Linked DNA regions of Homo sapiens: regions 1, 3, 4, 5, 6 and 7 are each linked to region 2. The links are contacts of gene promoters, found by promoter capture Hi-C in blood cells and fetal thymus (Javierre and others, 2016). All regions are on one chromosome and are shown on one strand. The core of a region is centred on a gene start or on the middle of the fragment in contact, and the rest is flanking DNA. Distances in the headings are between cores, read along the strand shown.

The links. The method cuts DNA at HindIII sites, captures the fragments that hold promoters and counts their contacts. A CHiCAGO score of 5 or more calls a contact.
Region 1: a fragment that was not itself captured here is called in contact with the fragment with the promoter of SIGLEC14 in region 2 in 2 of 17 cell types (neutrophils and monocytes); the score reaches 9.7 in neutrophils.
Region 3: the fragment with the promoter of SIGLEC12 here is called in contact with the fragment with the promoter of SIGLEC14 in region 2 in 11 of 17 cell types (total B cells, naive B cells, erythroblasts and 8 more); the score reaches 11.4 in total B cells.
Region 4: a fragment that was not itself captured here is called in contact with the fragment with the promoter of SIGLEC14 in region 2 in 10 of 17 cell types (megakaryocytes, erythroblasts, endothelial precursors and 7 more); the score reaches 19.7 in megakaryocytes.
Region 5: a fragment that was not itself captured here is called in contact with the fragment with the promoter of SIGLEC14 in region 2 in 1 of 17 cell types (monocytes); the score reaches 5.5 in monocytes.
Region 6: a contact is called between a fragment that was not itself captured here and the fragment with the promoter of SIGLEC14 in region 2, in 4 of 17 cell types (monocytes, M2 macrophages, M0 macrophages and 1 more). The highest score is 14.0, in monocytes.
Region 7: a contact is called between a fragment that was not itself captured here and the fragment with the promoter of SIGLEC14 in region 2, in 7 of 17 cell types (megakaryocytes, erythroblasts, endothelial precursors and 4 more). The highest score is 16.8, in megakaryocytes.

Annotation. Positions count from the first base shown.
Region 1 is chr19:51,785,686-51,788,928 of GRCh38, forward strand. No RefSeq gene overlaps it. Among named protein-coding and RNA genes, the nearest start is that of FPR3, 7.8 kb to the right of the region's middle. The HindIII fragment of the contact is 5,296 bases long and covers 1-3,243 here.
Region 2 is chr19:51,644,512-51,648,074 of GRCh38, forward strand. It overlaps SIGLEC14 (sialic acid binding Ig like lectin 14), which reads right to left and starts at 2,314. Exons shown (of 7, transcript NM_001098612.3): 1 at 2,212-2,314; 2 at 1,746-2,129; 3 at 1,271-1,549; 4 at 966-1,019. The coding sequence starts at 2,248. The HindIII fragment of the contact is 8,795 bases long and covers 1-3,563 here.
Region 3 is chr19:51,499,581-51,503,160 of GRCh38, forward strand. It overlaps SIGLEC12 (sialic acid binding Ig like lectin 12), which reads right to left and starts at 2,220. Exons shown (of 8, transcript NM_053003.4): 1 at 1,727-2,220; 2 at 340-720; 3 at 1-136. The coding sequence starts at 2,153. RefSeq lists an enhancer at 1-482. The HindIII fragment of the contact is 28,149 bases long and covers 1-3,580 here.
Region 4 is chr19:51,431,683-51,434,772 of GRCh38, forward strand. No RefSeq gene overlaps it. Among named protein-coding and RNA genes, the nearest start is that of SIGLEC10, 16 kb to the left of the region's middle. The HindIII fragment of the contact is 7,506 bases long and covers 1-3,090 here.
Region 5 is chr19:51,805,732-51,808,833 of GRCh38, forward strand. All of the region lies in intron 1 of FPR3 (formyl peptide receptor 3), which reads left to right. It also overlaps a transcript of ZNF577 not described here. Among named protein-coding and RNA genes, the nearest start is that of FPR3, 12 kb to the left of the region's middle. The HindIII fragment of the contact is 3,247 bases long and covers 1-3,102 here.
Region 6 is chr19:51,827,061-51,830,610 of GRCh38, forward strand. It overlaps a transcript of ZNF577 not described here. Among named protein-coding and RNA genes, the nearest start is that of FPR3, 34 kb to the left of the region's middle. The HindIII fragment of the contact is 6,940 bases long and covers 1-3,550 here.
Region 7 is chr19:51,411,367-51,414,708 of GRCh38, forward strand. It overlaps SIGLEC10 (sialic acid binding Ig like lectin 10), which reads right to left. Exons shown (of 11, transcript NM_033130.5): 9 at 3,056-3,149; 10 at 2,346-2,457; 11 at 1-5. Among named protein-coding and RNA genes, the nearest start is that of SIGLEC10-AS1, 2.7 kb to the right of the region's middle. The HindIII fragment of the contact is 1,768 bases long and covers 1,039-2,806 here.

The DNA.
Region 1 (3,243 bases), core at 310-2,809, 140 kb after region 2:
GAGCTTGGTAAGCATGAGTTAGAAATTTGGAAACCACTGGAGAATGAAGAGCAGGGGAATGTCATGATTTGCTATGTTTTTAAAATTTTTATATTGACTCTGAAGCCGAATAGCAACTTTCAAAAGAGTAAATATTTTCCATTTTAATTAAGTCCAATTTATACTTTTTTCTTCTATGGATTGTGCTTTTGGTGTCGTGTCTATGAACTCCCTGCTTAGCCTTAAGTCTTCACTATTTCTTCTATGTTTTCTTCTAAAAAGTTAGTAGTTTTGCATTTAATATTTAAATCTGTAATCCATTTTGGATTAGTTTTTATAAAGGAGGTAAAACTTAGATTGAGGGTTTTTTGTTTGTTTTTATTTATTTATTTTTTTTCGAGACGGAGTTTCGCTCCTGTCGCCCAGGCTGGAGTGCTGTGGCACAACCTCGGCTCACTGCAAGCTCCGCCCTGCCGGGTTCACGCCATTCTCCTGCTTCAGCCTCCCGAGTAGCTGGGACTACAGGCGCCCACCACCACGCCCGGCTAATTTTTTGTATTTTTAGTAGAGACAGGTTTCACCGTGTTAGCCAGGATGGTCTCGATCTCCTGACCTCGTGATCCACCCGCCTCGGCCTCCTAAAGTGCTGGGACTACAGGTGTGAGCCACCGCGCCCTGCCTAGAATCTCTTACATGTTCTCACTCCTAAGTGGGAGTTGAACAATGAGAACACATGGACACAGGGATGGGGAATATCACACACTGGGGTCTGTCGGGGGCTGGGGGGCTAGGGGAGGGATAGCATTAGGAGAAATACCTAATGCAGATGACAGGTTGATGGGTGCAGCAAACCACCATGGCACATGTATACCTATGAAACAAACCTGCACATTCTGCACGTGTACCCCAGAACTTAAAGTAAAAAAGAAAAGAAAAGAAATTATTCTTCAACTTCACATTCTTCTACTCACTCCAAAGAGTCTATTGTACTCCAAAGCGTCTATTAAGTATGCCCTTAACAAGCTCCCCATCCCCAGAGATATGTTCTTCATCTGGATTTTATATTCCACCAGCTGGGTCCTTGCTCTGGGAAGTTCTAGGTCCTGATCTCCTGGAGAGAGTCACTGTCATGTAATTTTCACAGCAGAAGTTAGCCCAAGGGACAGGAGGAGGAGTAAGAGAACTGAAACCAGTTGGGGAACAGGAAACAGAAAGCAGAGCTCCTTCTGATTTTTAATGGCCCTAAGAACACACCAATATACTACTTGTTTTAATAGCAGTGGATTGTTGTGGGCCCATTTAGGAACTAAAGTACCTGACTGTGTTTCTCAACCTCAGTCTTTGTGGGATGCAGAGATTCAACCCTCTCAACCTAAAGGGCCAAGGAATCTGGGTGTCCAGGACCCTTCTCTCTCCAAGGGTCAAGGTAAAGAGAGGAGCAAGTACTGTAATGATGTCAGAGGCACTGGAACCAGAGCAACTCCATGTTGAATAGTAGCTGGGTAAAATTAGGCTGAGACCTACTGGGCTGCATTCCCAGACAGTGAAGGCATTCTAAGTCACAGGATGAGATAGGAGTTCAGCACAAAAAAACAGGTCATAAAGACCTTGCTGATAAAACAGGTTGCAGTAAAGAAGCCGGCCAAAAGCCACCAAAATCAAGATGGCCACGAGAGTGACCTCTGGTCGTCCTCACTGCTACACCCCCACCAGTGCCATGACAGGTTACAGATGCCATGGCAACGTCAGGAAGTTACCCTATATGGTCTAAAAAGGGGAGGAATGAATAATCCACCCCTTGTTTAGCGTATCATCAAGAAATAACCATAAAAATGGCCAACTAGCAGCCCTCAGGGCTACTTTGTCTATGGAATAGCCATGCTTTATTCCTTTACTTTCTTAATAAACTTGTTTTCACTTTATTCTATGGAGTCACGCTGAATTCTTCCTTGTGCGAGATCAAGAACCCTCCCTTGGGGTCTGGATCAGGACCCCTTCCAGTAACAGAAGAATTAGAGGGAAGCAATGAAAGGCAGAATGAAGACGAGAAGGATGGAGACCAAAACCACTGAGAGATTGAAGGGAGGCAGAGAAGTTGACAGGACAGAGCATCCACACCCAGGCACCCCAAGATTAACCCCATAATTTTTGGCTCCAGTGGAAGCTCATTTGTAGGTTTCTAGTGCAAAGAGGTGGTGGGCTTTCTGAAATATTAGGTTCTATCCAAGGGTATCAGAGTGGTATGGAGATAAATGGGAAGCAGAGACAGAAATAAGGTAGTCCACCTAAAAGCATTATTCCCAAGGCTTTGTGTCATTAAGGCTGTTTACAATTTTAAGTAGTTTATAATTTAAAATTACACCTAACAATGGCTTAAACCAAAGACAACATTTATGGTTTATTTGCTTTCCAAGAATTTTGCAAGTGAGTAGTACTAAATTACTTTCTGTCCAAATTATATCATTTAATAAGTTTATTTTGATCTTTTCACTTTTTCATCACTATTTTGGTGTGTTTTTTTTTTCCTGGAAATTGCCACCTCACGGCCCCAAGATAGCTGCCATAGCTCCTGGTCTCACAATACAGCATCTCATGCCAGGAAGATAGGGATGAAATGAAAAAATACTGAAAATTTTAGATCTGAGGCGAGATATGTTCAGATTTATTTTATAAAAATTTATCTTTGGGTCCTAATAACAAGAAGCATTTTAGAAGATTCCCAAGGAAGGAAGGGTAAGAAGTATAGATGTGTCTAAGAGGCACAAGGAAACCAAAATACTGTGTGTGTGTGATGGTTGGGAGGGGGGAATTAAAATAAGGGAAATGGCAGAGGACACCATTATGCATAAAGGAGAAGGACCCAGATGTCAAGAGAAAAAAAGAGGCAAAGGACCCCACAGAGACTAATTGCCAAACACATTTGCAAGTCTTTTGAAGTCCAATTATTCTTCCTAAAACTGGGTTCCTGGATGCCTCTGCATGTTTCCCATAAACTCTCGTTATTAAAACATAAGCAGTTGGGTATGGTGGCTCACACCTGTAATCCCAGCACTTTGGGAGGTCGAGGTGGACGGATCACCAGGCTGGTCAGGAGTTCGAGACCAGCCTGGCCAACACGGCGAGACCCCATCTGTGCTAAAAATACAGAAATAAGCCGAGCATGGTGGCGCATGCCTATAATCCCAGCTACTCAGGAGGCTGAGGCAGGAGAATCACTTGAACCTGGGAAGTGGAGGTTGCGGTGAGCTGAGATCATGCCACTGT
Region 2 (3,563 bases), core at 1,064-3,563:
GCCAAGTAGGTCCCGGACTGGAGAGAAGTGGGATAGGAGGCAGGGAGGCTGGGAGGAGGCTGGGGCAATGGGCCAGGGTTGAGCACGAGACTTGAGCTGGGCCTGGAACCAAGGGGATGAGGAGGGAAGTGATGATTGGTGAAGTAAAGGTGTTAAGACTTGCGGACTCATGAAACAGCTGATGAGAAAGGGTGCTGTCTACAGCGATGTCCAGAACAGCCCTGGGATCAACAGGGAAGGAGGAGCCGAGAAGCATCCGAGGGAGGTGGCTAAATGTGCAGATCTGTGCCTCAGAGAAAGGGCTGGATATAAAGTTGTGGGAGGCATCAGGACAGGGTCAAGGAGAGATCGGATTACTCAGGAATGTGGAGGGGAAGAACTGGGTTCTGGGACAGAGCTGTGGGAGGTGGGAAAGTCGAAGGCTCCCAAAAAGGACGATCAGTTAGAGATGAAGCAGGGCATGCATCAGAGGACATCGGAGCAGGCAGAAATTCAAGAAAAGGGAACAGCGTGTCCTGAGTACTCAAACTCACAGAGACAGAAAAGTAGAATGGTGACTGCTCGGTGGCAGGAGGGGGAAGTGGAAAGTCGCTGTTCAGTGGGTACAAAGTTTCAGTTTTGCCAGATAAAAGGAGCTCTGCAGTTTGGTTTTGCAACAATGTGAACACATTTAACACTGCTGAACTGTACTCTTTAAAATGGCTAAGATGACAAATTTTGTGCTATGTGTATTTTCTCACAATGAAAAAATAAATCTGAAAAAGAGAGCAGAGAAAAGGGAGAAGCCAAAAGAAATACTAGGTCTGTTCGTGCAAGATCTTAGTGACTGGGATTGGGGGGTTGGGAGCAGGAAGGACCCAGACCCAGGGGCTGAGGGGTGAGGGAGGGTCTCCTCTCCCAATGCTGAACCCTGAGCTAATAGAAGGCTCCCATCACAGCCCCAGAGGGAAGAGGGTCTTTCCTACCTGTGCCTGTGCCATTTCTGAAGAAGATGCTGATGGCGAGGTTCTGTGGAGCATCTGGGATAGAAAGATACAGCACCAGCTTCAGAGGTGACAAGAGGGATGGGCGTGGTCCCGGGAGGGACCCAAGGAGGGGCCACAGAAACCCACCAGGTGGGGACCGCTGTCCTTCCTGCCCACACACGAGTTTTCCCTGGTTATCATTCTCTTTCTCTCTCTCTCTTCTACACACACACACACACACACACACACACCCCCCTCACTCCCACTGCCCTTGGGGACTCAGCTGTGTCCCCAGCACCACTCACAGGAGACATTGAGCTGGACAGTTCTCTCCGTGGTCACCTGAGCTCCTTGGCGTTTCACCTGACAGGTGAGGTTGGTGCCATGGTCCTCGGGCCTGGGGGTGAGGGTGAGCTCCGAGGAGCGGGTGGTCTCGGGGTCCAGGGGGCTGAGGGCATTCCCCGTCCAGGAGAATGTGAGAGGTGGTCCCGCTTCACAGGATCCTGGAAGGCTGCAGCTCAGCCTTGTGGGGCGGCCGGACTCCAGAGGCTCCAGAAAGTGGATGTCGGGTTTCTCTATCAGGGCTGAGGAGGAGACAGGGAGATACCTGGGCCCCAGGGGCTTGAGGACGTAAGGTGTGACCCCGAGAGTGGCCAGGCCTCAGGCCCCGACCTGCCCCAAGTCCTACACCTCCTCCAGCCGCCCCTGCCCAACTCCTGTCCCTGTTCTCATACGGGGGTCTCCACGTCCCAGGGTCCTCTCCTAGGGTTCCTGCCATACCTGTCACCTCCAAGTTCAGCTTATTCTGTTGGTAGCTATATTTTACATCCCTTCCTCTCTCCACGCGGAAGAAATAGCTTCCCGTGTCCTCCATTCTGGCATCTCCGATGCTCAGGGAGCAGTTCTTCTTCTGGACATCCCCAAGGAGGCGGAATCGGCCCTGGGTCTCTGGCTTCACTCTTCTGTCTGGGTTGTTTGTGGCCACAACCTCAGCGTAGTATGGGATCTCCCCGTCCCGGAACCAGTAGACGTAGAGTGGGGGAGAGGAATACCAGGATCTCCAGGGGTAAGAGAAGGAGCAGGGCACAAGGACGCACAGGCCCTCCTGCACCGTCACCGACTTCTGCACTTGCAGCTCGTACACTGGCTTCTCCTGCAGGGACCCTGGGGGGACACAGAAGCTCAGCTGCAGCTCCAGCCCCCCTTCTCACCCCTGTGCCTGTCCCTCCTCCCTCAGCTCACTCACCCCCCCACAGCAGGGGCAGCAGCAGCAGGGGCAGCATGTCTCCATCCGCCAGGGCCCCAGCCCAGTCCCAGGTCCGGCTGTCAGGGAAGGAAATGCTCCAAATGTCCAAACGTGGGGTGGGGCTGAGAAAGCCCCGACAGGAAGCCGGAGGGTGAGTGAGAGCTGTGGACGCGCACAGAAGGGGAACTTGGGCATCACGTGCTGTTGGGGTGAGGCTGGGGCTGGGAAGCCATTCTGCTCCCACCCCCACTGGACGCCGATGGTGAAGATACTGAGGCCCCCAGAGGGGCTTGTCCAGACTTGTAAGTCTAGACTCCTGAGGTCACCAGGTCCCATAGCTGCAGCACTTTCCTTATGCACCTTTGTCTACATAGGAAGGAGAACACCACTTGGCCAGCTCCCTGGGAGTCAGGGCCTCGGGACCCTCAGCGAGATGGGAGAATAAATCCTTTATGACATGATAGGAGCTGTGGTGAGGGAAGCACACGCTGGGGGTTTCAGGTGGGGAAGACTTTCCTCTTTCCAGAGGGAAGGCAAGTTGTCAGGGACAAACACATCAGGTGGACATGACCGGGTCCTTAGCAGTCAAGAGAGATGTGGTCCCCACCACCAGTTGGATTTGGGAACCTCATCTCATCCTTGTCCTTGTCCCAGGCAGCGTCAGACCCCATCCCTGATGTTGACAGCCAGATGAGGCTTGAGAGCCGGGCATTTGAAATGTGAACGTTGAGGATATGGAATACCAAGTGTGAACCCAGACCCCTCACCTACCGGCTGTTGAACTTTACAAAAGTTACCTACCCTCTCTGTGCCTCAGTTTGCTCAGCTGAAAAATGCAGACAATAATAGAATTGCTGTGTGGGGATTCAGTGAGGTCTCATGTGTAAAGTGCTTAGGACAGTGTCTGGCCCCGAGAATTCACTCATTCAACTGATGCTTCATGGGCGCCTATGGTGCACCAGGCCCCCTGTTTTAGGAGCTGGAGATACAGCAAAGGATAAACTCTTAGGATGAGAAGGTAAGTCAAAAATCCTAGTGGGGGCTCCTCTGGGCACACTGCTTATGCATACCCCTGCTCCACGAAGAACAGTAAAAAAAGAAGGCCGGGCGCAGTGGCTCACGCCTGTAATCCCAGCACTTTGGGAGACCGAGGCGGGTGGATCACGAGGTCAGGAGATCAAGACCGTCCTGGCTAACATGGTGAAACCCCGTCTCTACTAAAAATACAAAAAATTAGCCGGGCGTGGTGGCGGGCGCCTGTAGTCCCAGCTACTGGGGGGGCTGAGGCAGGAGGACGGCGTAACCCGGGAGGTGGAGCTTGCAGTGAGCCGAGATCGCACCACTGCACTCCA
Region 3 (3,580 bases), core at 970-3,469, 150 kb before region 2:
GACACGGAGGCCCCCATCCAGGTGATCGTGGGGGGCGTCCCCTGTTCACAGGCCCAGGGCACAGAGCAGGTCAGGTTCCTGGGGTGGCCAGACTCCAGGGTCCCCGGGATGGAGAAGGTGGGCATGTGAGTCAGGGCTGGTGATGAAAGGGAGACAGGCAAAATGAGGGTGTTGGGGTCTGAAGTGTGGTGCTGAGGAGGCTCAGGCTCTGGTCTTACTCCTCCCCTGAGCCAGATATGCTTCACCTCCAACTCCCTCCCAGGATGGGGGTCCCACCTCAGCCCTACCCTGCGGCCCTCGGGCCTTCCCCTCTGGCTGGTCCTAGAGCCAGAGATTTACCTGTCACATGCACAGAGAGCTTGTCATATATGTAGTTCCATTTCCTGCTTCCTCTCTCCACCTGGAAGTAGTACTTCCCTGAATCCCCCTTCCTGGCATCTCTGATGCTCAGGGAGCAGTTGTTGGTCTGTGGGTCCCCAAGGAGGAGGAATCGACCGTGGGTATCCTCTTGCACTTTTCCACTTGGGGTGTTTGTGGCCACTGGAATATCCCATGGTATATCGGCCCCTTCCTTGAACCAGGATCCATAAACAGGGCTAGAGGCAGTCCAGTTGTAATGGGGGTAAAGGACACTGCAGGGCACAGAGACACACAGACCCTCCTGCACAGTCACCGACTCTGGCACCTCCAGCCTGTATCTTGACAGTAGGTCCTGGGACGCTGTGGAGAAACGAGGGTCAGCCCAGCCCCCACTGTCCCTCTCTTCATTTGCCCATAGCAGGGGCAGCAGCATCTCTGAGGCAGAGGCTTCCTGGGCTCCCTGTGTGAGCAGAGAAGGGGGAGGGAGAGGAGGGGCAGGGCTGTGGGACCCACAGGGGGCTGGAGAGGAGCTGGAGACCTCAGCCCTGCATGGAAGAGAAACTGCAAACCCACATGCTATAGGAACTCATTCCCTCTGCACAGAGTGAAGGAAACCCTAAAGCTCAGAGACCCTAGAGACCCACCCAGGGAGGAGAAGAGACCGTGTCCCGCCTCCTACCTCCGGGCTTCCCTGAAGCACCAGGGCCTGCACCAGACACGTAGGTCCTGCCCTCCCGGCCTCTGGACCATCGTGGAGGTCCCTCCTGTCTTTTGAGCATCTAAATGTGGATCTCCGAGGACCTCGGGGCATGAGAGATGGAGGGGCCGTGTGCTGAGTCTCCCTGTCCAGGCTCAGGTGCCTCTGCTGCCCTTGGTTTGCGCCAGGAAGTGCTTCCTCCCTGGCCTGGCCTGAGAGAGTCACGGGGTTGTGTAGACCTAAGGCTCTCAACTGGGGAGGACTTAACCCCCCAGGACGTTTGACAATGTGTGGAGATAATTGTCTCGCTGCATGGGTGGGGTGGGTGCTTCTGGCATCTGGTGGGGAGAGGCCTGGGATGGTGCTAAACCCCGGCCATGCCTAGGACAGGCCCCAAAACAAGGAGTCATAAGGCCCCACATGCCACAGTGCCAGCGTCAGAGGCAGGATGAGGATGTCAGGCCTGTGGGTCAGGGCTGGTGAGGGGAGGGGCTTGCAGGATCAGGAGGGGCATCCAAGGTGCGGTCCTGGGGAAGCTCAGGCTCTGGTCCAGCTCCTCCCCTGAGTCCATCACCCCCGGCCCCCTCCCAGGACATGTGTCCCGTCTCAGCCGTGCCCTAAAGCCCTCATCACATTTGCCTTTGGCCTCTCTTGGAGCCCGTGCCTTACCTGTCACATTCACAGAGAGCTGGTCATATTTATAATTCCATTTCATATTTCCTCTCTCTACACAAAAGACGTATGTCCCTGCATCACTCTCTCTGGTGTCTCTGATGCTCAGGGTACAATCCTTGTTCTGTGGGTCCCCAAGGAGGTGGAATCGGTCCCGAGTCTCCTCCTGCACTGCTCGAGCTGGGTTGTTTGTGGCCACTGGAATGTTCCGGCTTACATGGTCCCCTGCCCGGAACCAGTAGCCATGAACTGGATCGGAGGCAGTCCAGCCATTTTGGGGGTAGGAGAAGGAGCAAAGCACAGAGACACACAGGCCCTCCTGCACCGTCACGGACTTCTGCATTGTCAGCAGGTAATCCTTCTGTTCCTTAGCCCCCACTCTCCCACAGAGCAGGGGTGGCAGCAGTAGCAGCAGCAGTAGCATGTGTCGGGTTGGAGGTGCCAGGGTTGCTGAGGTAAGTCTGTTCCTCAGGGTTCTTCTCTCAGGAACTGAGAACTCAAGATTTCGAGGAAGCCGCACAGGAAGTTGGGGGTGGGTTCTGAACGGTGACCTCACAGGAGGAACTTCACACACAGACACTGTCAGGGCCGGGTCACCCCTGGAAGATCCACCGTCCACTACCCCGTCCACTCCTGGGGACCCTGAGGCCAGAGAGGATGAAAGACTCACCCAGATTCCAACCCCATGCAGGGCCCACCCCGCCCACTGCCTCCCTCTCAGTGCCCTTCCCCTTGGGTGATATTTTCCATAAGGTGAAAATGAGTCCCATGTGGCCAGACCTATGAAGTACAGGCTGTGGATGTCTCTCTGTAGGTCAGAGGTGACACTAGGATATAAGAGATGGGGGTGCAGGTGGGATGAGCAGGCAACCTCTCCTTCCTCCCTCAGCGGCCGTGAGGTGGAGTTCAACACAGCAGAGCTAGACACTGTCCCCAAAGAGTCACTGTGTAGTGGGGAGACACTGAGGCTCCTGATATCTGAGCTCTCCATGGCAGGAGCTTCAGTGGGGGTACCAGGCAGGGTGTGGTCGCTCTCTCCTATGTTGGGGAATCAGTCTCGGGAGGACTGAGCAGAGAGACACGGGGTCGTGGAGGTGAGGATTCCGTGTGTTGATACACACCAAAGACACAGAGAAGAGCCCAGTTCACAGGAGGCCTGAGAAGCTAAGGCTGTGACTGTTGTACAGTGAGGTCTGGAAGGGAGGAATGTTGGATGGGAAGGGACAGATTTCTAAAGGGGCAGGCGTTTCTCTCTCGGCCATGGCTCTCTGGGTTCAGGATGGGATCCTTCACCACTGCTCTCTCACAAGTCCTCCTTACTCCAGAGCATGAGGGGTCTGCTGGCCCTTTGTTCCTGCAGGCTCTGCTCCCAGGGTTTCAGGTGAACAGGAGACGTGGAGCGAGGACACCAGCCCTGGCGTGTCCACGCTCAATGATGGACAGGATTTCATGGGAGAAGAAATGCACCTGAATTCAGCAGAAGAGTTTTTGAAACTGTATGCTATGTACTGGGAGGAAGGTGGGGAAAATCCTGCAAGATTCGCCCTCCTTAGACCCATGTCAGCTTTTCTTGAAACAATGATTTTTGGGGAAATGTAATACAAGTAAATAAAAGTGCCACCTAAAAAAATGACTCAGTGATTTTCACCAAATTATCACTGTTCAAGAAATAGAACATCACAAGATAATTGCCAAATTTCTCCCATGAGATGAAGAAAGAAATTGCATTCATTTATTCAGCCCTGTGTTTCCCCTTCCTATAGGCCACATGCAGTTCCTCCTGAAGATGCCCCAGCCTCACTTTAATGATAATGGTCTCCTTGCTTTTCTATGTAGTTTTATCATCTGAGT
Region 4 (3,090 bases), core at 180-2,679, 210 kb before region 2:
TGTTTAAGTTCATGCTTTCAATTCTGGGAACATATCTAGGAATCGATGGCTGGATTACACTGTATTTCTAGGCTTAACTTTCGGAGAGAATTCCAAAGAGTTTTCCACAGGGTCACACCATTTTACATGCAGTGCAAAGGGGCTCCCACTTGTCCATATTCTTGCAAACAATTAGTATTTTTTTTTCTTTTGAGACGGAGTCTCAATCTCTCGCCAGGCTGGAGTGCAGTGGCACCATCTCGGCTCACTGCAACCTCCACCTCCTTGGCTCAAGCAATCCTCCCACCTCAGCCTCCCGAGTAGTTGGGACCACAGGTGCTCACTGCCACGCCCGGCTAATTTTTGTATTTTTTGTAGAGATGAGGTCTCACCATGTTGCCCAGGCTGGTCTTGAACTCCTGACCTCAAGCAATTCTTCCTCTTTGGCCTCCCAAAGTGTTAGGATTATAGGCGTGAGCCACTGTGCCCAGCTTATGCTTTATATTTTAAGAGTTCTAGTGACAGTGCAGTGGCATCTTATGTTTAATTTTTAAAAATTTACTTAAAGTTAGATATGGTTGAATTCATTCTTTATCATATGTAATTTTATGTGGGTTGACCGATGCATATAGTTATATACACAACCGCTGTGAAGACAATGAAAAGTGTCATTACCTGAACATTTCCTCCCTCTGCTGACTCTAGGTAGTCAATCCTCCCTCTACACTTAGTCCCTGAGAAAACACGGATCTATTCTCCATCCCTGCCATTTTGCCTTTTTATAGAATGTCATATAAATGGAATCATACAAAATGTATCCTCTAAAATCTGGCTTCATTTACTTGGCATAATGCTTTTGAGGCTCATCTATGGGGCTGGGTATAAATCTGTCATTTTAGTTTAATTGTTGACTGGTGCTCCATTGTTTTCATGGTCTCTCATTTTGCATGTATTTGCCATTTGCGGAGCATTGCAACTGTTTTCAGGTTCTGGTGACTCTAAAATAATGTTGCTATAAACATTCCATTCAACTTTCTGCGTGTGAACATAAGTTTTTAATTCCCTTGAGTAAAAACCTAGGAGTCGAGTGCTTGGTCAGACGTACACTTGGTCAAGTGTAAGTTTAAATTTATACAAAATTGACAAACTATTCTCCAAAGTGTATATACCATTTTGTATTCCTACCAGCAGTAGACATGAGCTCTGATCACTTCACATCCTTGCTAGCATGTGATATCATCCACATATTTTAAAATTTCTTGTTACCTTTGTTGTACTTTTCAGTCATTTTTCTTAGGTATGTAATTCTACCTCATTCTTCTTCTATTCTACAATTACCTAATGACAAATTATATTGAGGCTATTTTCACGGCCTTGTTCGCCATCTGCTTTTCTTTTTTGGTGAGGTGGCTATGAAATCTTCAGTAGCTTTTTTCTTAATTGTGGTAAAATATACAGAAGAAAAAAATTACCGTTTTAACTATTTTTCAGTGTTTAGAGAAGTTGCACCAAGTACACTCACGTTGTTATGAATCACTATGATTTATCTCCAGAAGTTTCTTCACCTTCCCAAACTGAAACTGCATCAAAGAGGTGAAAACCCCCTATTTCTTTCTGATCACAGCCCCTGGCAAGCATGGCTCTACTTTCCGTGTCTGTGAATTTGCCTCCTCTACACACCTCATATAAGTGGAATCATACAGTGTTTGTCCTGCTGTGACTGACTTAGAATATATTTAAGGTTCATCCACGCTGCATCATGTGCTAGCTTCTCCTTCTTTTTTTTTTTTTTTTTTTTTTTTGTTGTTGTTTGAGACGGAGTTTCACTCTTGTCGCCCAGGCTGGAGTGTGATGGCGTGATCTCAGCTCACTGCAACCTCCACCTCCCAGGTTCAAACAATTCTCCTGCCTCAGCCTCCTGAGTAGCTGGGATTACAGGCACCTGCCACCAGGCCCGGCTAATTTTTTTTTTTTTTTTTTTTTGAGACAGAGTTTCGCTCTTGTTGCCCAGGCTGGAGTCCAGTGGCGTCATCTTGGCTCACTGCAACCTCCACCTCCCAGGTTCAAGCAATTCTCCTGCTTCAGCCTCCCGAGTAGCTGGGATCACAGGTACGTGCCACCACACCTGGCTAATTTTGTATTTTTAGTAGAGATAGGGTTTCACCATGTTGGTCAGGCTGCTCTCAAATGCCTGACCTCAGGTGATCCACCCGCCTCGGCCTCCCAAAGTGCTGGGATTACAGGCGTGAGCCACCGTGCCCGGCCTGTATTTTCTTTTCTTTTTTTTTTTTTTTTTAGTAGAGATGGGGTTTCACCATATTGGCCAGGCTGGTCTCGAACTCCTGACCTCAGGTGATCCACCTGCCTCGGCCTCCCAAAGTGCTGGGATTACAGGTGTGAGCCACCATGCCTGTCTCCTTGGTTTTTTTGTTTGTTTTGTTTTTTGTTTTCTTTTTCTTTTTCTTTTTTTTTGAGATAGGGTCTTGCTCTGTTGCCCAGGCTGCAGTGCAGTGGCATGATTGGGCTCACTGAAACCTCTGCCTCCCAGGTTCAAGCGATTCTGCTGCCTCAGTCTCCCGAGTACCTGGGATTACAGGCACATGTCATCATGCCTGGCTAATTTTTATATTTTTAGCAGAGATGGGGTTTCATCATGTGGGCCAGGCTGGTCTAGAACTCCTGACTTCAAGTGATATGCCCACCTCGGCCTCCCAAAGTGCTGGGATTACAGGCGTGAGCCACCATGCCCCAGCCCAGCTTCTCCTTCTATTTTAAGGCTGAGTAATATTCAATTGCATGTATACAATACACTTTGTTTATTCATTCACTTTTTAGGAATAGCAGGGTTGCTTTTCCCTTTTACCTACTGTGAATATGCTTCTGTGAACACAGATGCATAAAACTATGCTCAAGTTCCGGCTTTTGATCTTTTGGGCCATATACCCAGAGGTGAAATTGCTGGATCATAAGATCATTCTATTTTTAATTTTTTTGAGGAACCCCACTACTACTCTCTAGAGCAACTTCACCATTTAACTTTCCCATCAGCAATGCACAAGAGTTCCAATGCATAAGAGATCACATGGACAGCTCAGCAAGCTGAATAATGGC
Region 5 (3,102 bases), core at 233-2,732, 160 kb after region 2:
GAACAGAACTATGCAAAGTTACAGAGGACATCACAACAGAAGTTATTAGTGTGACCAAGGAAACGATAGCAAAAATTATCATGCCTAAGGCTCTACGGGCACAATAAGTAACCTGAAGTAGAAGAAGTTTCACAAAATGCAAAGCAGGTGTGGCAGCCCAAGCCTCGGACAGATTAACAGGAATCCCTAGCCCAGGGATGCAACCTAAAATCATCAAAGTCGAGATATTATGTGTTCGCAATGTGCTATGATTAATGCAGTGATATAACTGGCAAGATTTACAGGTCAACTGGGTATTGTTTACCTGGAGCTGGTCCTTCTGAGCTGCCAAAAAGACATAAGGATTAAAAACACAAACCACAAATTGAGTGGTGATATTCTTTACAAATGTAACATTAAGACTGTGTCGTGACTCCAGTCGGCCTTCTCTCCATCTTTGCACTCAGGCTCAGCTGACTCATGGCTCGTACCGGAGGGACTGGGCCCATGGTTGGCCACCCCATGTTTCTCCAGTCTCCCATTCCAGGGTTGCAAGCACCTTGAGGGCACCCACATGGCTTGTCAATCTCCTGTAAACACACAAGCATACCCTCTTCCCCATGTCAGTAAATCCACCGGGCCTTTCCATTGTCCTTCTTCTGGGGATTTCCATAACACTTTCAGATAAACTTTCCTCTTTTCCTCTAACACTTGCCAATGTCTTTCTGCTGGAGTCTTACCATCCGTACCAGGAGTCAAAAATTTTAAAGTAAATAAGGCTAAATGTAGTTTTGATTGAGGTGGTAGTTGGCCTCCTATACCCCCTTTTTGTCTTTTCAACATTCGTTGTAATGTTTGATGTGCCCATTCTATAATGCCTTGTCCTCTAGGATTATAAGGAATTCCTGTTTTATGGGTTATAGCCCAAAGCTGTAGGAAATTTTGAAAAGCATGACTAGTATAAGCAGGTCCATTGTCAATTTTTAATTGTTTAGGTATTCCCATATGAGCAAATGATGACAGACAATGTCGCTGTACATGACCAGCTGTCTCACCTGTTTGGCATGTACCATGCAGCATATGAGAATAAGTGAAACAAATTAAGCAGTTCTGGGTCTAGCGTACTTTTAACTGTAGCAGTTTCTATGCGAATGGCTAAATTTACAACATAAGCTGAACAAGAAGAATCTCCTTGCAGGGTTTGGTAAAGATGTGTAAGTTGATAGGTAGCAATACCTAACATCGGGCGTAGCCAATTAATATCTCCTAATAATTGCTGAAAATCATTTAAAGTCTGTAACCTGTCTTTATGGTTGACAATGTTGATTGTAGCCTGCCACGATCCCTGATGGACTGAACAAAGGGGACGAGCGTGGGAATAAAAGACAAGAGATAAAAGAGTATATTTGGAAGAAGCGGTCAGGGGGCAGCTTGCCTCTAGTGGACAATGGCCCTGAGCTTTACACAGCCCTCCGTATTTATCAGGCAAAAGAGATAGCAGGAAGTGGGGGGGGTGGTTGCTGGCTAGCAGCCTGATTCACAGCAGGCTTGCAAGACTGCATTCTTAAAACAGTAGGCGCTAGATTTCTCAATAGATAACTCTCAATAGATAACTTCAAGGAGCCAGGGAGTGAGGCCCTCCACAAACCTTTTGGTGGCAGCGCAGTGTGAGTTTGCCACATCCTGCATTCATGATAAACAGTTTGCTGTTTGATCATATAGCCTCCAGTGGAATGCTGAGTTGGTCACGTCCCATGGGCCTTCGGGTCCCTGCAGTTGATAGGATCTGAAGCTGTGAGCTGTAAAACCTCACAGCTGACTGCAACTAGCTCTGAGCATTGACCTGAAACCCCAGAGATCCTTATTGTTTGAGTATGTTTTAGTCCATAGATGGCAGCATGACCTTTGGAAGAGCCATCAGTAAAATAAGTCTGTCCACCTGGAATAGGTTTGTGATGAGTAATCACAGGAAGAATGAAAGAATGGATTTTATAAAACTGTAAAATTTTGTCTGAGAGTAGTGGTTATCTATCACGCCCATGAAGTCTGCGAAAGCAGTTTGCCAGGCAGTCGACATTTCCCAAGCTGCAGCTTGTTGCTGAGAGTCTAAAGGAACAATAATTTTGTCAGGATCATATCCTGTAAGCATTTGTGACCTATGCCTGCCCATAGTCACAATTTGTGTAATTAAAGAAAGATAAACTTGCAAGGTTTTGACTGTTTGATTAGATAGAAAGAACCATTCTATTACTGTTACAGACTAGTCTATAAACTGGCCCAAAAGTCCTGTTGGAGAGTAGGGGGTAGGAAGAATAAACAAAAGCAAAGGTTTTTGTGGTTGTAGCCATGAGGCATGTCTCTGCTGTAACATTTGCTCTACAAGCTGTAATTTGGCTTCTGCCTCTTTAGTTAGTTGCTGCAGGGAATTTAAAGAATCTCCGTGCAGGGTTTGGTAAATATGTGTAAGTTGATAGGTAGCAATACCTAACATCGGTCATGGCCAATTAATATCTCCTAATAACTGCTGAAAATCATTTAAAGTCTATAACCTGTCTTTATGGAGAACTACTTTCTGAGTCCATACACTTCTCTCTGTAACAATAGTTCCTAAGTATTGGTATGGGGAAGTTGTTTGTACCTTTTCTAGAGCTATTTTGAGATTCCATTTAGTCAAAGCCTGCTTTGTTTCTCTGAATAACTGATGTAGGTTTTGATCTGTAGGAGCAGCCAAAAGAATATCATCCATATAATGAATGATGTAAGCAGTAGGAAACATATTCCGAGGCTTCTTTAATGCCTGTCCTACAAAATGCTGACATAGCGTAAGACTGTTAAGCATGCCTTGGGGTAAAACTCTCCATTGATAATGAGAAACAGGTTCTCTTTGATTAATAGAAGGCACAGAGAATGCAAATCAAGGCTTATCCTTCTCGTGTAAGGGTGTAGTAAAGAAACAATCCTTAAGATCTATTACTACAAGAGGCCAGTCTCTTGGAATAGCCGCTGGAGATGGTGAAAGTTTTTGTAAGGCACCCATCAGTTTTATGTGTACATGAATAGCTCTTAAATCATGTAGTAGTCGCCATCTTCCGGACTTTTTTGGAAAAACAAACACTGGAGAAT
Region 6 (3,550 bases), core at 548-3,047, 180 kb after region 2:
TAAAGGATTATAGAAACTATAATCCTACATTTTAGCAGAATTCAGACTCCTTGAATAATCCTAATCTTAGGGCCTTTCATTACTTTTCAGTCTCAGAGCAAGAAGGGTGTTAGTTAGGGAAGGCCTACTATCATCCTTGCTTCCATGTTAAACTATAAACTAAATTCTTCCCCAGTTATCTTAGCCTACAACCAGGAGTGAACAAAGACAGATAACCTTTGAGGCTAGAGGCAGGAAGGAGTCAGCCACGTTAGATTTCTCTCACTGTCAAAATTTTTGCAAATGTGGTTTCACTTATTGGCATGAGACAGTATAATAACTGTATGGTACTTGATATGTTTCTTTCAAGTAATGAGAATGTAAGCTATCTGAGGGCAGGTATTTTGGTCTATATTGTTTGCTGATGGATCCCAATCCCCTGCAAATAAGATAGTGTCTGATATGTGATAGGCACTCAATAAATGTTTATGGCATTGATAAACAATAATATCACTTAATGTCCAGTCAAAATTATCTCCAGCCCTCATAATATGAATCAGGTCAGGTCTAGTAAATTCCCATCCTCATGTCCACAGTATTTGTAAATTCCCAGCTGGCTTACATTTTCATGAACATTTCTGATTTTGAGTTTCTGCTTAAGTAAACTACTCTGGTTAACCATTGCCTAAAGACTTCATATTTAAATAAATAACTCATAACTCAGCCCTTTACCTTGCTTTCTGCACATAAACACTCAGAAATTGTCAATTCTGTATTGTGAACATACTTTCCTGATGCACTGGCAAAAGACACCACTCAACATGAATATCAGGCAATCCTGTTATCAGTGTTCTCACTCACCCCACTGCTTTACTCATTTTCTTCTCCTTTTCCCTTCTGTCTCTCCTAAAGTTATTGCATTTCCAAGGCAGAGCACTTTGCGCATTTCATTTGCACGTTTGACTCCTATAAATGCTTTAGAGTTCCCAGGAGGTGTATATTCTTAAATGCCCAGCCAAGGTGTAGCCATAGAAAATAAGGAACAAGGCTGGGCATGATGGCTGACTCCAGTAATCCCAGCACTTTGGGAGGCCGAGGTGAGTGGATCATTTGAGGTCAAGAGTTCTAGACCAGCCTGGCCAACATGTTGAAACGCTGTCTGTACTAAAAATACAAAAATTATCTGGGCATGGTGGTGTGCACCTATAATCCCAGCTACTTGGAAGACTGAGGAAGGAGAATTGTTTGAACCTGGGAGGTGAAGGTTGCAATGAGCTGAGAATGTGCCACTGCACTCTAGCCTGGGAGACAGAGAAAGATTCCATCTCAAAAAAAAAAAAAGGAGAAGAAAAAGAAAAAGAAAATAAAAAGGCACAAGGACAAAACCTAGATAGGAGAGCCAGGGCTTCCAGATGGGCTAATTAAGAGACTTCCTCCACTGCCAGGACAGGGGATTCTTACTATTCCTTCCCACTGGCCTTGGTTAATTGCAGTAGAACAGTGCCTGCTACATCCTCTCCATTTTTCTTTTCCTCTTTAGGAGTTTTCATTGTGGAGTCTCAATTCCCATTGCATTATGATATATTGTGGGTTCAGGAAACTGAGATTTTTTTTTTAAAGTTATGGGACAGTTACCACAAAGAAATACTTCCCAATGTATGTCCATGTGGATGGCTCACTAACTTCCTGTATCAGGCCTGGTCGGTCTGGGACAGCACTACTGCTTGCTGGTTTTAGATTTTTTGTTGCTTTGTGCAACTTAGTACTGCTGTTGTCAGGTGTTGCCTTGGGGACTCTCCAGAAACTCTGGTGAATATAGACAGCTCTCTGAGCCTTCAGGCTCCCCTGCAGCTCCTGGAGGGCAGGTTTCATTGTAATGAGGATGTTTCGCTATGAACAGTAGTCACTCTTTCTCTAATCAGGCCCCTGGTGACAGGCCACTACTTGAGGGCACGTTGTCCCTTGAGCTATATATGCTGCTCTTGTTACATGGGGTCTTGGTAGTAGTCTGGCCTGTACTGGGTATAAGTTGCAAAGTCCTGGTCTCCAGCCAGAGTGAGCTGGCCAGTATGGTGAAACTCTATGTCCATCTCTGCCAGGGTCCAACCTGGCCGAATGACAGATGAAAAATGCACTCTGAGACTGATATCCAGTGAAAAAGCAGGCTAGGGGACTGGGCAGCTCACAGACACCGAGGAGGGAGCTGTAAAGAGTCAGTAGCCACAGCCCCGACAAGCTGGCACTGTGGGCATTTATTCAGTACAGATTTAATGACAAAGGCCTGGAGTCAACACGTCTTGTGGGTAATTAACATTGTCACCCCCCACCCCCCAAGACAGCAGTCCTGTGCACAGATGATTAAATACCAGGTTCCGAGGCCTAAGTAAACTAACTTATCTAGATCAATTCCTTTACACTTCCTTGTTATCCATTCTGAGAAAATTCAGCTGCCTTCAGCCAAATCCTCTTCTGAAGCTATGCAAATCCCAGGCCTTCCAAGAAGGTTTGCATCCTTTTCCTATAATTTATCTTACAACTTTTCCCACCATCCTGACCGATCTCCTACACATCTCACTGATGAGAGAGCCACAGGATACCAGGCTCCTGGGTAGCAGCAATTCCCTCATAGTGAAGTCAGAAAAGATGATAAAATGCTGGGCTTCAGTGTGTTGATAAAGGAGAGCCAGGATGAAAGGATCAAGTCACCTAAGCCTAACCTGTAATATGGCAACTGCACAAGTCCCCTTGGCAATTTTCAAGAGCAAGTGCTGCTGAGGCCAGTGCCTCCTTGGTTGCTGCATTCCTTCCTGCTATCACTCCTTGTCCCCACTAGCCACTCAGAGGTCAAGTGGGGCACCTTCAAAAGGGAAACAACTGCCCACAAGGCCAGTGCAAATGGAGCTCACCCCCAGATGTTTTTAGTAACAATTTGTAAAGTCAAAACAACAGGGTGCCAAACCCAAGGTCATCTAGATTTTCTCCTGTTATCTTCTAGGAGTTTTATAATTTTGTCTTTTACATTTAGGTCTGTGATCCATTTTGAGTCCTATTTATCTGGTGGAAACCTGACTGACATAGCATATGCTTCTAGTGTTTAAAAAAAAAAAAAAAAACAGAGGAAAGATGAAGCATTAACTAATATAAATTAGTAGAAATTGAGTGGAAGAAATGAAAATAGTCTCTCTGTCTACTTTATCATGCCATTTTCTTTTTGTGTTTTTGCCATCAGCATATACATCTGTTCTCTAATCTACTAACTGAAAACATAAAAACCTTTTGTACCACACGCGTCCTCCTGAACTTTACAACAAATTTCTCTGCTCTCCTTGACAGCAAACTCAAGGGTCACTTCCAGTTTCTTTCTCTACTTCCTCATTTCACATTTTCTCCAGAACTCATTCTAAATGGGTTCATGTCCTGATTACTGCAGTGGGACTACTCTTATCAAGGACAACAGTGACATCCATTGCCATGTTACTGCACTGCAGGTTCAGACATTTGGTGCTTGCCTATGAATCCAATGGAGTAAATCTAAGTCATATATGCTTATCTGATAATGATGGGAATCTTA
Region 7 (3,342 bases), core at 673-3,172, 230 kb before region 2:
TGAGCCTGAGGGAAGAACCACCATCCTTCATTCATTCATTCAGCAAATATTTGAGCACTTACCACGCGTCGGGCACTGATTTACAGCACAGAGTGAAACTAAGTCCCTGCCCTTGCCTTGCTGAGCTTGCATTCCATCTTGGAAGGAGGAACAGACAATAATTAGCAAAAGTACAATGACTGGTAAGTGACAAATGCCATCAAGAAATTTGAGCACCTTTAGAAGGCAGCGAAAGGGAGGGTGGGATGACTGTTTAATAGGTCATCCAGGGAATTTCAAGACCGGCCTGGCCAACATAGCGAAACCCTGTCTCTACCACAAATACAAAAATTAGCCGGGCGTGGTGACACATGCCTGTGGTCCCAGCTACTCAGGAGGCTGAGGCAGGAAAATCACTTGAACCTGAGAGGTGGAGGTTGTAGTGCGCTGAGACTGCGCCACTGCACTCCAGCCCGGACAACAGAGACAAAATCTGTTTCAAAAAAATAATTGATAGCCGGGTACGGTGGTTCACACCTGTAATCCCAGCACTTTGGGAGGCTGAGGCGGGTGGATCACCTGAGGTCAGGAGTTTGAGACCAGCCTGATCAACATGGTGAAACCCCGTCTCTACTAAAAATACAAAAATTAGGGGGGCATGGTGGTGGATGCCTGTAATCCCAGCTACTCAGGAGGCTGAGGCAGATGAATCGCTTGAACCAGGAGGTGGAGGTTGCAGTGAGCCGAGACCTTGCCACTGCACTCCAGCCTAGACAACAACAGTGAAATCCCATCTCAAAAAATAAAATAAAATAAAAATAAATAAAATAAAGAATAGCATGCATGCACGGAGAGAAAGACTGGAGGGGGTGAGAACGGAAGCAGAGAAGGCATGCAGAAGGGGCCAGTGGTGCCCGGGGTGGGGTGGGGGGTGTTGATGCATGGCTTGTAGTAGTGAGGGAAGAGTAGGGAGAACTGGCTTGGTTGTATTTTGAAGGGAATTTGCTGATGGATTGGTTGTGGGGTGACAGAGAAGAGAGGAGTGAAATATGATTCTAAAGCTTTAGACTTGGCTGGGAAAATGTGGTGTTATTTGCTAAGATGGGGATAGAGATGGAGCATAAATGGTGGAATTAGTCTTTTTTTTTTTTTAGATGAAGTTTCGCTCTTGTTGCCCAGGCTGGAGTGCAGTGGCATGATCTCACTGCAACCTCCACCTCCTGGGTTCAAGTAATTCTCCTGCCTCAGCCTCCCGAGTAGCTGTGATTACAGGCACCCATCACCATGCCCAGGTAATTTTTTGTATGTTTAGTAGAGATGGGGTTTCACCATGTTGAACACGCTGCTCTTAAAATTTTGACCTCAGGCGATCCACCCACCTCGGCCTCCCAAAGTGCTGGGATTACAGGTGTGAGCCAGCAGGCGTGGCCTTTTTTTTTTTGAGACAGGGTCTCACTCTGTCACCCAGGCTGGAGTGCATGGTGTCATCATGGCTCACTGTAGCCTCCAACTCCCAGGCTCAAGAGATCCTCCCACCTCAGCCTCCCAAGTAGCTGGGACAATGGGCATGCACCACCACACCCGGCTAATTTTTTATTTTTTTTGTAGAGAAGAGGTCTCACTATGTTGCTCAGGCTGGGGAATTATCTTAAGTTGGTTTTGGACAGGCTAAGTTTGAAGTGCTGATTAGACACCCACATGGAGATGTTGCATAGACAGTCTTCAGGGAAGGAGCCACGAGATACAATTTTGCAGTCATCAGCATAAGATGTTATCTCTTAATAATTTCCAGAATTTACAGAGTATTACCCAGGGGCCAGGTGATATTCTGAATATTTTATTATGCAAGTACAATATATTTAACACCCAGCATCATCCTAGGAGGTGGCCGCTAGTATTGTCTCCATGTTACAGCTAAAGAAATTGAGGCACAGAGAAGTTAAGACACTTGTTTCATGACACAGTGATGACAGCAGGATTTGAACCCATGCAGGCTGATTTCAGACCCCCTGTGCTGAATCCCTAGGATGCCCAGCCTCCCGATGATACACATAATTGTTAAGCAGTTAAGTGTAGTCATGTCAATGGTGGCAGTAATAATGGAACAATGGCTACAGATTGAGAAAGTGCATGTATTCTAATCCTCAAACCAACTCTCAAAGGAGACAGAGGAAGAAATGAAGGCTCAGAGGGGGTGAGTGACGTGGCTGAGGTCTCATAGCTAGTAAGTGCCAGGCAGGATTTGAATTCAGAACTATCGGTGCTTTTCCCACCTTGATGTCGCTAAGACAAGGGGTGCAAAAGTCAGAAAGTGGGATGTCAGCTTTAGAGAAGAGAAAAAGTGGAAGCATGGCCCAGACACTCACCAGGGGGCCAGCCGTCGGGACCACATTGATGTAATCCAGGATCGTGCTGTGCCGGGAGAACCTGGGCCTCGGGGTTTCTGTCTGAGTCCGTCTCTTCGGTAGAATCTTCATGCTGAGGAAATGAACCCACCTGTTTGTGCCCTGCTGCACCTCCCTGTGACAGACTGCCACGTTTACTACCTGAGACCGTCACTATGACAGTTACTACTGTTACCACTTGAGACCGTCATTATGAGACTGAAAGAAGGAGGACAAACGTAGAAATGAAAACTTAAGACAAAAGAAATTATTTTAAAGGAAGGGGTCAGGGGAAGAAGAAGAGGGTTCCCTGCTACTAGTGAGCCAGGGCAGCTGTCTGAGCCTCTACAGCCCTTTGTATTTATTGGGTAGAAAGAGCAGAGAGCAGGAGGTAACAATTGGTCAGCTGTTTAATTGATCACAGGTTCATATTATTACTAACAAGCTTCAGCTGTGCCTAATTACAAGAAACACTTCGCTTGGGGCGTGACTGCCCTCAGCATTCCCTCTGGGAAGCAGACGCAGTTTGTCAGTTGGACAACATTCTGCATTTATGAGAACAGTTTGCTGTTTACTCATGTAACCTCCAGAGGTATACTGCGTTGATCACGACCTTCACTCTTTCGGCCTGCAACACCTCCCCTCTTCCTGGGTCCAGGCCCCAGACCCCGCCACGCCTCCTCTTAACCTACATGATCAGGGCCAGGCAGAGGAAAAGAAGAGCCGTGATGCCGATTCCCAGAAACGCTCCGTTGGAGAATGCCGTTGAGATGAGTCCCTTCTTATCTGCACACGGAGAGGGCAAGGTGAGCATTTCCCATCCACGCAGGGCTCACGAAGCCCGCTCATCACTCGGCATTAAGGCTTCCGGTTCCCATGGCGGACATTGTATCTGCAACCCCTCTGTTTACTTTTAGGAAACCCTGCCACACCCCGGCCCAGGTGTTAGGACTTCCCATTGTGTTTTCCTGTCTACATA